Regions from separate parts of the Homo sapiens genome. Here region 2 is linked to region 1. The links are contacts of gene promoters, found by promoter capture Hi-C in human tissues and cell types (Jung and others, 2019). All regions are on one chromosome and are shown on one strand. The core of a region is centred on a gene start or on the middle of the fragment in contact, and the rest is flanking DNA. Distances in the headings are between cores, read along the strand shown.

Region 1 (5,371 bases), core at 1,945-4,444:
GGCAGCGCTGCTTAAGCATTATGAACTCTGTCCCTGGAATCATGTGGAGTCAAATTTGAATCCTGATAGACTGCCACTTAATAGATGCATGGTTGTAGGCTGGTTACTTTGACCTTTTCGAGCCTTAGTTTTTTAATCTGTGAGATGGGGATAATGTTAGCATAAATTTTGTTGAGTTGTCACAAGGGCAAAACAATGATGGAAACCACCAGCTTGCCATTGAGTTACATGAATTGTATATTTCCTTTGCACATTTCTTAGCCTGGAACCCAGAAGGCTTTGTGATCTTGCCAAGTCTCCAAGCCGGCTTTACAATGAATTACTTCATATTGTAATTGAGGTTACCTTTACTTGACTTAAGTGTATTAATTTAGAAAGGAATTTTATGTCAATCACTACCATGCACAGTAAGCCCGATTCCACAGCCTGACAAAGGCTCCAAGCCTATGGCCTGCTATCCCTTTGTACAAGCCTATGGCCTGCTACATTCCTTTTGTATCCCTTTGTTCAAAAATCCCTTTGTACAGCTCTCTCTCTGTTCGAGAGCTGTTAAAGACACATCGAGTCATTGCCCTGGCCATCGTCAGAAGCCAGAAGAACAGTAGGAAAGGGAGCTCTTTCGCTTGAGAGCTGGTGTTGGCGAGTGTCACTGCAGGCTGCTGCCTCAAATCATGGCGCCCGGCTTGCTTTAGGGACCAAGGACAATGCTGCCTCCTCTGATCATCCAGCTGAACACACTGTCTTCTTCTCTTAGCTCTGTGCGGCGTTTTATGTTCTCAGCATCCTGGATCCTTGGCGATCTATTTCTGAACTTCCTTACCTCAACTAGAGTAGAAGACCCAGAGGGCAGGGCCAGCTCCATCCTGGTATTTGGCTAGCACCTCCTGGTGCCTGAGAGGCTCATCCAGGGTTTGTTGATTTTTAGTCCCAGTGAAGACAAGTGGTGGTCGGCTTCAAGCTACTGAAGGCCATAGACCCAGAGAGTGGTCTAAGCAGCCATGATACCTCCTGTGTCTGAACATGGTACCCGGAAACCTCCTCCTACTCCTTTTCTCCTTTTAGCTGATTAGTATATTTTCTATTCCTCCAGCCATCCCCCAATCCAAGAACTTTTTATTTTGTTGAAGATGGAAATTTTAATTCCAAAGAGATAGTAATTATTATGGTCTGAATATTTGTCCTCTCCAGATTTATCTGTTGAAATCCTATCCATGAAGGTGATGATGTCAGGAGGTGGGGCCCTTGAGGGGTGATTAAGTCATGAGGGTTGCAGCCCTCATGAATGGGGTTGGTGTCCTTAGAAAAGAGACCCCCAGAGAGCTGCCTTGACCCTTCCACAACTGAGGATGCAGTGAGAAGTCACCATCCATGATCAGAAATCGAGCCCTTATTAAACACCGAATCTACCAGCACCTTGATCTTGGTTTTCCAGACCCCAAAAATGTGAAAAATAAAACTCTGCGGTTTATCAGCCACCCAGCTTATGGCGTTTTGTTATAGTAGCCCCAACAAACAAAGATAATACTAAAATGATCCAAATTCTAGCCCAGCAGGAACAGAAGATATTGTGAGTCTTGGGTTTTTCTTATTTTCAAAGCATCAAGTGCAAAAACAAACAAATAAACACTTGGATTCAAGGGCTAGGCAGGATGGGATGGGAGTGGGGGGATGGAGAACTTCAGCATCAGCTTCAGTGCTGGAAGCTTGAGTGCTACTCTAGTTACTGCAGCTCTGTACCAATTTACCCAGAGTTTAGTGCTGTAAAACAACCATTTATTATGCTCATGGATTGTGTGGGTGGGAAGTTCGGACAGGGTACAGCGGGACAGCTATTCCTCAGTTGGAAGTCTTGAGGGCTGGGAGCTCAAATCATCGGAAGGCACATTCACTCAGGTCAGTGGCTGACACTGGTGGTCGGCTGGGAGGCCTCGGTTTCTCTCCACGTAGGTTTCTCCAGGTGATCTCTCCAGGTGGGCTTGTTAGGGCTTCCTCCTGGTACAGCAGCTGTGTTCAGAGGACAGGTGTCCTGAGCTATCAAGCCAGGGGGATGTTGTAGCACTCTTTTGGACTGTCCTCAGAAACTGCTCTGGTCACTTCAGCTGCTTTCTAGTTTTCAGAAGCTGGTCGTTAAGGCTAGTAGAGGGCAGGACCCAATTCAACCCCATTTTTTAGAGATGAGGTCTCGCTATGTTGCCCAGGCTGGTCTTGAACTCCCAGGCTCAAGCAATCCATCCACCTTGGCCTCTCAAAGAGCTGGAATTACAGATGTGAAGCACTGCCCCTCCCCCAACCCCATCTGTTATGAAAGGAGGGTCCTTTGACCACAAGTGCCCTGAGAAGTCAGGAGGACTTCCCAGTCTCAGACATTTTTATCTGAGCTGGAGATGGGGACAGCCTCCCACACACAGGACTTGGAAGGCTATGAAGGAAGTAGGGGGCTCTCTTGGGAGGTCATTTCCCTTGGTAGGGACGGTTGTGTGAATGAACTTGGCCTTTAGGGAGAGGAGCCCGACTCTCACCTGAAGCCACCCAACCTGTGCAGATGGCTGAGGAAGCCCTGGACACCACAGGACCGCTAACCCAGGATCTTTGTTGACTTTGCTCCCAGGCCACTGCCCCACACGCAGGCTCTGAACTCCTGGGAGAGGTAGGGAGCCAGCCCGAGGCGTGAGTCAAGAGTGTAAAGTACACCGAGTTCCTTGGCAAGCAGGCTCTTCAAGGGGAAGGTGTCACTCGGGGAACAATGAGAAATGTGTCTTTCCCTCAGCCCCTGATAGAAAAGATAACACCCCTTGAGCACAGCCTTTTCTCATCTGTTCTTGCTCTTGGATGGGGGGCTGCTACTCCGGAGCGGCGAACTGGCGGGCGGGGGTGCGCCTGTGAGTGTGAGCGCGCGTGTGCGTGTGTGCGCGCGCTCTCGTGGCCTTCCGGCAGCTGGCAGCTGTCCCGGCCCCCACCCCACCCTACCCCACCCCACCCAGCCGCGCCACGCCACGCCGCCCCCGCCCCTCGCTGTCCTGGGTGCGCCTCGGGCCGCTGCGCTCCTGGCCAGCTCCCCCCAGCGCCTGGGAGGCGACCCCCAGTGCGCCCGGGTTCAAAGGCCCGGCGAGGCAGTTCCAGCCCCTCTGGGGGGCGGGGAGGCGACGGGGGTGGTGCAGAAGCCAGAAAAGCCCGAGCCACAGCCGGCCAGCTCCGCGCAGGGATGGGCAGCGCGCTCTGAAAGTTTATGACCGCCGCAGCCAACTCCTGGCCGGAGCTGGAGACGCAGCGAGCGATCGGCCGGCCTCGAACCCCCACAGCTGGAGGGCGAGGCCAGCTGTACCCGGCCCCAGTGCCCTTTCGCGGCCACAAGCGGCCGTCCTCCTGGTCCGGTGCTCCGGCGCCTGATCTAGGTTCATGGAGCCGGGGCTGTGGCTCCTTTTCGGGCTCACAGTGACCTCCGCCGCAGGTAAGCGCACGGGGCGGCGCGCCTCTCCTGGCGCGAGCGCACACAAAAGGACCCAGGGCGGGGGACCCGAGGCGCGGAGAAGATGTGCGTCGCGGGGAGCAAACTCTTGCCTGGGCTCTGCACTCGTGAAGACGCCTGGGGGAGGGCTGGGGAGCAGAAGCGGCGCGCAACGACTACCCGCACGGGCTCCGGGAGTTGCAGCCCGCGCACTGGCTGGAGACCTGCTGCCTGGGCCGACTTGGTCAATTTTTCATGAAACTGGGGACTTTTCAGAAAGTTTGCGAACTATTCAGAGGCTGTGCCAAACCCTGGCAAAGTTTGCAGAAAGTATGCAAAATGCATGCAAGTTTTCAACGGGTGCAGATAGCTTGCAAGCTTTTCACAGAGTGTGCAGATAGCTTGGAAACTTTTCAGAAACTGCGCAGAGCTTTGGAAACTTTGCAGACATTTTGCTTGCTCCACCCCCCTCCTCAGGTGTTTGGGGGTGGCGGGTGTTGAGGGGTCTGCACACTCAGCTTAGGAGCCCCTCAATCTGCCTTCTGCAGGATTCGTGCCTTGCTCCCAGTCTGGGGATGCTGGCAGGCGCGGCGTGTCCCAGGCCCCCACTGCAGCCAGATCTGAGGGGGACTGTGAAGAGACTGTGGCTGGCCCTGGCGAGGAGACTGTGGCTGGCCCTGGCGAGGGGACTGTGGCCCCGACAGCACTGCAGGGTCCAAGCCCTGGAAGCCCTGGGCAGGAGCAGGCGGCCGAGGGGGCCCCTGAGCACCACCGATCCAGGCGCTGCACGTGCTTCACCTACAAGGACAAGGAGTGTGTCTACTATTGCCACCTGGACATCATTTGGATCAACACTCCCGAGTAAGTCAGCCTTTTGTGGTGAGGAACGTGGCTCCCGGACCAGGCCCACATCTGCTCATTCCCAGGAGGACCTCACTCCACCCCAGCCCCGCTCAGTTAGCCCAGAGCCTGCCCTGGCACAGCCTTTAGCTCTTGCTGGGGCCTCTTGCCAGCCCAGGTCTCTTCTGCAGGTCAGGGGTGTGACCCACATCCCCCCTGAGGGCCTGGCCCAAGAGAAACTCAATCCTGAGTTTGATCCTGTGGAAGGAGGAGCCCTCCCTCTGAATGAAGTGAACTGACCAGGGGGATTAGATACCTGAGATGTCTCTCTGAGCCTCTTTTCTGAGATAGAGAAAGCCCCGAAAGTTTATCTCATTCCCCAGGGGCCAAGGGGGCTCATACTCACTGTTGACCCCACCAGGATCCAAGGGGTTTAAAATTCCTTGAAAGCATCCTGGTCTCCAGGGAGTCTAAGGGTGGGTTTAGCTGAGCCTGACAGAACCTGCACAGTCCACTCGGGGTAGAATTCCCCTGGGATGGGCTCCCTTCCTTCCTGTGGGCCCCCCTGGATGCCAAGGCAGGGTGAATTCACATCAGCTCGTCCTTGGGCCTTCCACAGGCTGGCTCCAGTCACCCACTGCCATGGTCACAGAGGGCCTTCCCTTCTCTCCTGCAGTCCTTAGAAACTCTCTTACCCTAGGGCCTAGACAGCACCATCCTGAATTTGTCTTGGGGTTCGTCCAGTGGGGAAGTCAGCCTTCTCCTGGGGCCATGTGGAGAGAGTGTGGCTCTGACAGGGGGAGGCTTTGATGACTCCCAGTGTTCAGGGAACCCCTCCTGCAGGCACATCATCTTGCAGGCCATACAGAGGGCTTGACCTTGCCTGGGTCACCAACTCTCTGGCATTGGCTTCCCCATCTCTAAGATCTGGGACTTGGATCAGACACCTCTAAGTTCTGTTCCCTGGGTGTTCATGGGATCTCTTGGGACTCTTGCTTGTACCCTATTAGGGATTCTTAGCTGAGAACTCAGAGATGGTTGTGAATGCAAGCCCCTGGAAGCCTGGAAAGGCACCTTTGCCACCGT
Region 2 (5,371 bases), core at 1,234-3,733, 35 kb before region 1:
ACACTATTTCAGACCTAACTTCCTTGGGAGGAAACATCAAATATTTGATGACTGATGTTGTCATTCCCAAATTCTTTTTCTCAAGAAAGATTAAGATATCATGCTTTAAGGCAGTGGTTCTCAGAGGGGGCAATTTTATTTCCCAGGCATCTGTATGCAGAGGGCAGGGATTCTGCTCAACGTCCTGCAGTGCGTAACACAAGGCAGTTCCCATAACAAAGATGTATCCAGTCTATAGTGCCAGAGGTGCTGAGGTTGAGAAGCTCTGGTCTCAGGAGTTAGGGTGACAGTGTAGTGCTGGCCCCAGAAACAGCTCAGCCCTCATGCTGACGATGAGACTGGAGTGGAGAGAAAGACGTACCCTGGCAGGACCAGAGGCAGAGTCCAGGGCCCACAGTCCGGTATTTCTTCACAGCTGCATTAGGACATGTTTCTAGAGCCTACACACAGCAGGACATTAACTGATGAAAATTTAAACCCCAAAATCATCCCCCTGCCCTGCTCCATTCCACCTCGAGGAGAAAGAGCCAGGAGAAAGGATGACACGTCTATGGGAATAGATGCTGTTTATTGCTTTACCATCCCCAAGCACACTTGAACACTGAGTAGACACTAAGGAAATATTTACATAGGGAAGGATAGGATTTTGCTGTGAAAGTAGATGCAACCCAAACGCTCTACAAACTTCTATAGCCAACTGGAATGAAAAAGAATGAACACCAATGCTGGGCATCAAGTTGAGAAAATCGAGAGTATCGGTTTGCTCCTTCTTCCTTTTAGGGGAAATCAAGGACCAGAGGGTTTTGCCCAAGCTTGAGTGAGAGGCAAAGTGGTGACTGACACCAGGACTTCACCCCTAAACTCCAACATTTTTGCCATGACACCACCACCTTCTGCTTCCAAAATTTTCCATTATGCTCTACTGTCTTTCCTAGAAGTGGAAAGAAGGACATTTTTGTCAAGATTTTCTGCATCAGGGTTTGAAAATTTTGATGACTTTTTGGTTAACTGAAAATTACCCAGAAAATCAAATTATCTAGACTGCTCATCCCCCAAATGTTCTAGTTAATCAAGGTTTGATTGTGTTTGTTTTGCAAAAAGAAAACTTCTCTCCTAAGACATTTAGACTCAAATAGATGTGCCCGGTGCTTATGTGGTCTCATAATTTATGCACTTGAGTTGCTGTTCCGTGGGCAATTTGGCAGGGATCACAGGCATAGACAAAGAAGATGTTAACAGCAAAAAAGACATCACCAGAAAGCCTTTGGAAGACAAACACTTCACATCTTCAATTACAAGACAACCTGATGCAGAAAGAGACTAAATTAATTTAAAAACCTCCTGCACAAAGAAAATAATGGAAAAATACATCACAAGTAGTTATCCCTTTTGTGCTAAAAACAAGTGATTCGGAGAAAATAACTGCATGGGGCTGAATGTGTTAGTCTTATAATCTTCTAGTTTTAAATTCTTAGGGGAGAAACAGAGAATAAGAAAAAAGAAGCTTTCATTGTTGCAACAAACATTTATTGGATATTTAGTGTATTGCCAGGCACCAGGCTACACTTTCTGTGACTTTTTCTACTCTTAAAATTTCTTTCAATCATGTGAAAGAAACTTCTAGATGTCTCATTACTGATTCCAACAGTGGCTCTAGAAAGGCCATTTTTTTCTGAGGTTTTTGCAAAAACTGTTTTGGCTCAACTTAGAAGTGCAGCTGGGAATATCACTTGGTGTTATTCCCCCTGGGAGCCTGAGTTCTCTGCGACTGGTTTATCCTAAGGTTTGGGGGCCACCCATTTGCAAGGAGAGGGCCTTAGATTACTAGAGATTATGAATATTTCAGGTTGAGTTCTCTGGGAAGTAGGCTCTGAAATGGAGCTCGGTGTGCCAGGGGTTTATTAGGGAGTTACCATGGACAACCACATCTGTGTAGAGGAGGAGGAAATGGATACAGGCAACAGCAGCCTTGGCCAACCCATGGGATGCTCTGCAGCTAGAATGGGCCTTTAAAGTTGGCTAGACCAGGACTTTAGACTCCTGCATTCATCAGTCACTGGATGTGGGCTGCCTGGGGCTACCTGAGAAAGTTGTGACCTTGAGGGAGGCAGCTCTTTGCAACTGAAGCAATCTCTGAAGGGACAGATTGCTGAAGGCTGCTTGCTGACAATCTTTCACTAAAGGGGCTCTGGGTGGCATATCATAGCATTCACTACTGTGAGGCTCCATTGAGAACTGACCTGCCTTCCTTCCCTCCTTCCTTCCTTCTTTCCTTCTTTCCTTCCTTCCTTCCTTCCTTCCTTCCTTTCCTCCTTCCTTTCTTCCTCCCTCCCTCCCTCTTTTCCTTGCTTCTTTTCTTACTTTCTTTCCTCCATTCTTCCTTTCTTCCTTCCTCCCTTCATTCCTTCCCTCCTTCTTTCCTTCCTTCCATTCTCCCTCCCTCCTTTTCTTCCTTATTTTCTTCCTTTCTTTCCTCCACTCTTCCTTTCTTCCTTCCTTCCTCCCTTCATTCCTTCTCTCCTTCTTTCCTTCCTTCCCTTCTCCTTTCTTCCTTCCTTCCTTCCTTCCTCCCTCCCTTCCCTCCTTCTTTCTTCCTTCCTTCCTTCTTTCTTTTGTTCCATCCATGCATCCAACATGTATTTATTTTGTGTCTGCCATCTGCCAGGCACAACCTGATGGAGAAGATGTCATTAAACAAAATATTATACATTATTTATTTACAACTTGATGCATACTAGAAAGAGACCACACCAAGTGAGATGAGAGAAGATAATTGGGGGAACCAGGAACCAACAGAATCAGGGAATGTTTAGGCTGAACTCTGAGGAATGAATTAGGATGAAAAAGAAATGGGTTTTCCAGGTGGAGGGAGCTTTGAGTTGGAGGAATTGGCAGCACAATGGGGGTGGCCCAGGGATAGTGGGGAGGGGAGAGAAGGAAGAGATGAGACAAGATCTGGGGATTGCACAGGCAGAGCTCAGGAGTTTCATCCTAAACACTGGGACCAAAAAATCTATACTGTGTCTGGAGATCTAGGAATGAGGTTCTGCTGGGACCAGAAAGCTAGAAGTTAGTTTAAAATTGAAATGCACGCTCCTACCTACAAGGTTTATATTATTCTTGAAAATGGGAGCTAACTAAAATTAAAATAGCTTCATTCAGTGTGAGCTGCACAATATTCCACACAGACTCATTGGGTTTTTGTCTCAGTATCCCATTTTCCTGAGCTTTGTAATTCTCAAACCTCATCTCCATGGAATAATCCAAACTGTGAAATGAAACACTTACAGGGCCAGTCAACCACAAGATTTGAGAACTGCAGTCCATTAACCCTTGGATGAAGGAGTAGATGACTTGAATCATCTTGTAATTTTTGCCTTCCTGTAGGTGAAAAGATAAAAAAAGTCTCAAGACCACATCCAGATGAGTCCAAATACCTGCTGAAAACTGTTGGGTCTATGGAATTTACAGAGAAAGAAGTTTCTCTTCTGACTTACTTAGAAACAGAATTTTATTTTTTCTTATTTTTTTCAAATAGATAAGATGGTAAATTTTATGTTATATGAATATATGTGAATGTATATGAACATATATATAATATATATTTTACCATTTTATCCACTCTTAAGCATATAGTTCAGTGATATTAAGTATATTCATATCATTGCAAAACCATCCATCTCCAGAACTCTTTTCATCCTGCAAAACTGAAGCTTTGTAATCATTTAAACAACTCCCCAATCCGTCCTTTCAGGAAGAGTTGACCTCCCTCTCCTTTCAGGAAGGAGGGGTTGGGGAGTTGTTTAAATTATTTCCCTGGAAACCCCTATTCTACTTTCTGTCACTAAGAATTTGACAACTCTACTCCCTCATGTAAATGGCATCATATAGAATTTGTCTTTTTGTGACTGGATTATTTCACTTAACATAATGTTCTCAAGGTTCATCCATGTTGTAGCATATGTCAGAACTTCCTCTCTTTTAAAAATTGAATAATATACCATTGTGTGTATATACTGCATTTTACCATTCATCTGTTGATGGACAATTGGGTTGATCTTCATTTTCATGATTGTGAGTAATGCTGTGAACATGGATGTACAAATATCTTTTCACTTTCAATCTATTTGTGTCTTTGGATCTAAAGTGAGTCTTTTGTAGGCAACATGTAGATAGATCATGTTTTTAATGCACTTTGTCAATCTCTTTGATTGGAATGTTTATCCATTTACATTTAAAGTAATTACCAATAAAATCTACCATTTTGTGATTTGTTTTCTATATGCCTTATAGCTTTTTTTGTCCCTGATTTCCTGCATTACTATCTCTTTTGTGTTGAGGTATATATATATATATATATATATATATATGTATATATATTTTATACAGAGGGTCTCCCTCTGTTACCCGGGCTAGAATGCAGTGGTGCAATCATAACTCATTACAGCCTCAATCTCCTGGGCTCAAGCTATCTTCTCACCTCAGCCTCCTGAGTAGCTGGTACCCCAGGCATGTACCACCACACCCACCTATTTTTTTATTTAATTTTTTTTTTTGTACTGGAAGTGTCTCCCTGTGTTGCCCAGGCTGGTCTCGAGCTCCTCTTGCCTTGGCCTCAAAGTGCTGGGATTACAGGCTGGAGCCACTGCACCCCACCTGTGTTGGTTTTTTGCAGTGAAATGTTTTAATTCCCTTCTTATTTTCTATTTTTTTTTTTTAAATTTCTGTTTCCAACTTTTACTTCAGATTCAGGCGATACATGTGCAGGTTTGTTACATGAGTAAATTGTGTGTCATGGGGGTTTGGTGTACAGATTATTTTGTCACCCAGGTAATGAGCAGAGTACTTGATAGGTAGTTTTTTGATTTGCACCCTCCTTCCACTCTCCACTCTCAAGTAAACCCTGGTGTCTATTGTTCCTTTTTTTGTGTCCGTGTGGACTCAGTGTTTAGCTCCCACTTATAAGTGAGAGCATGTAGTATTTGGTTTTCTGTTTCTGTGTTAATTTGCTTAGGGTAATGGCCTCCAGCTCCACCTGTATTGCCGCAAAGGACATGATTTCACTCTTTTCTACAGCTGTGTAGTATTTCATGGTGTATATGTACCACATATTTTTTATCCAGTCTACTGTTGATGGGCATCTAGGTTGATTCCATGTCTTTGCTACTGTGATTCATGCTGTGATGAACATATGCATGCATGTGTCTTTATGGTGGAATGATTTATATTCCTTTGGGTATACACCCAGTAGTGGGATTGCTGGGTCAAGTGGTAGTTTTGTTTTAAGTTCTTTGAGAAATTTCCAGACTGTTTGAGGAAGAGAATTTAAAGGACTTGGGATCTGATACAATTTTAGAAACTTTGATTCATA

What was found. The method cuts DNA at HindIII sites, captures the fragments that hold promoters and counts their contacts. A contact is called where the count stands out against the background at its distance.
Region 2: a fragment that was not itself captured here is called in contact with the fragment with the promoter of EDN3 in region 1 in 1 of the 25 tissues and cell types used here (dorsolateral prefrontal cortex).

Annotation. Positions count from the first base shown.
Region 1 is chr20:59,297,417-59,302,787 of GRCh38, forward strand. It overlaps EDN3 (endothelin 3), which reads left to right and starts at 3,195. Exons shown (of 5, transcript NM_207034.3): 1 at 3,195-3,448; 2 at 3,994-4,306. The coding sequence starts at 3,397. The HindIII fragment of the contact is 7,655 bases long and covers 31-5,371 here.
Region 2 is chr20:59,263,053-59,268,423 of GRCh38, forward strand. No RefSeq gene overlaps it. Among named protein-coding and RNA genes, the nearest start is that of EDN3, 35 kb to the right of the region's middle. The HindIII fragment of the contact is 4,349 bases long and covers 310-4,658 here.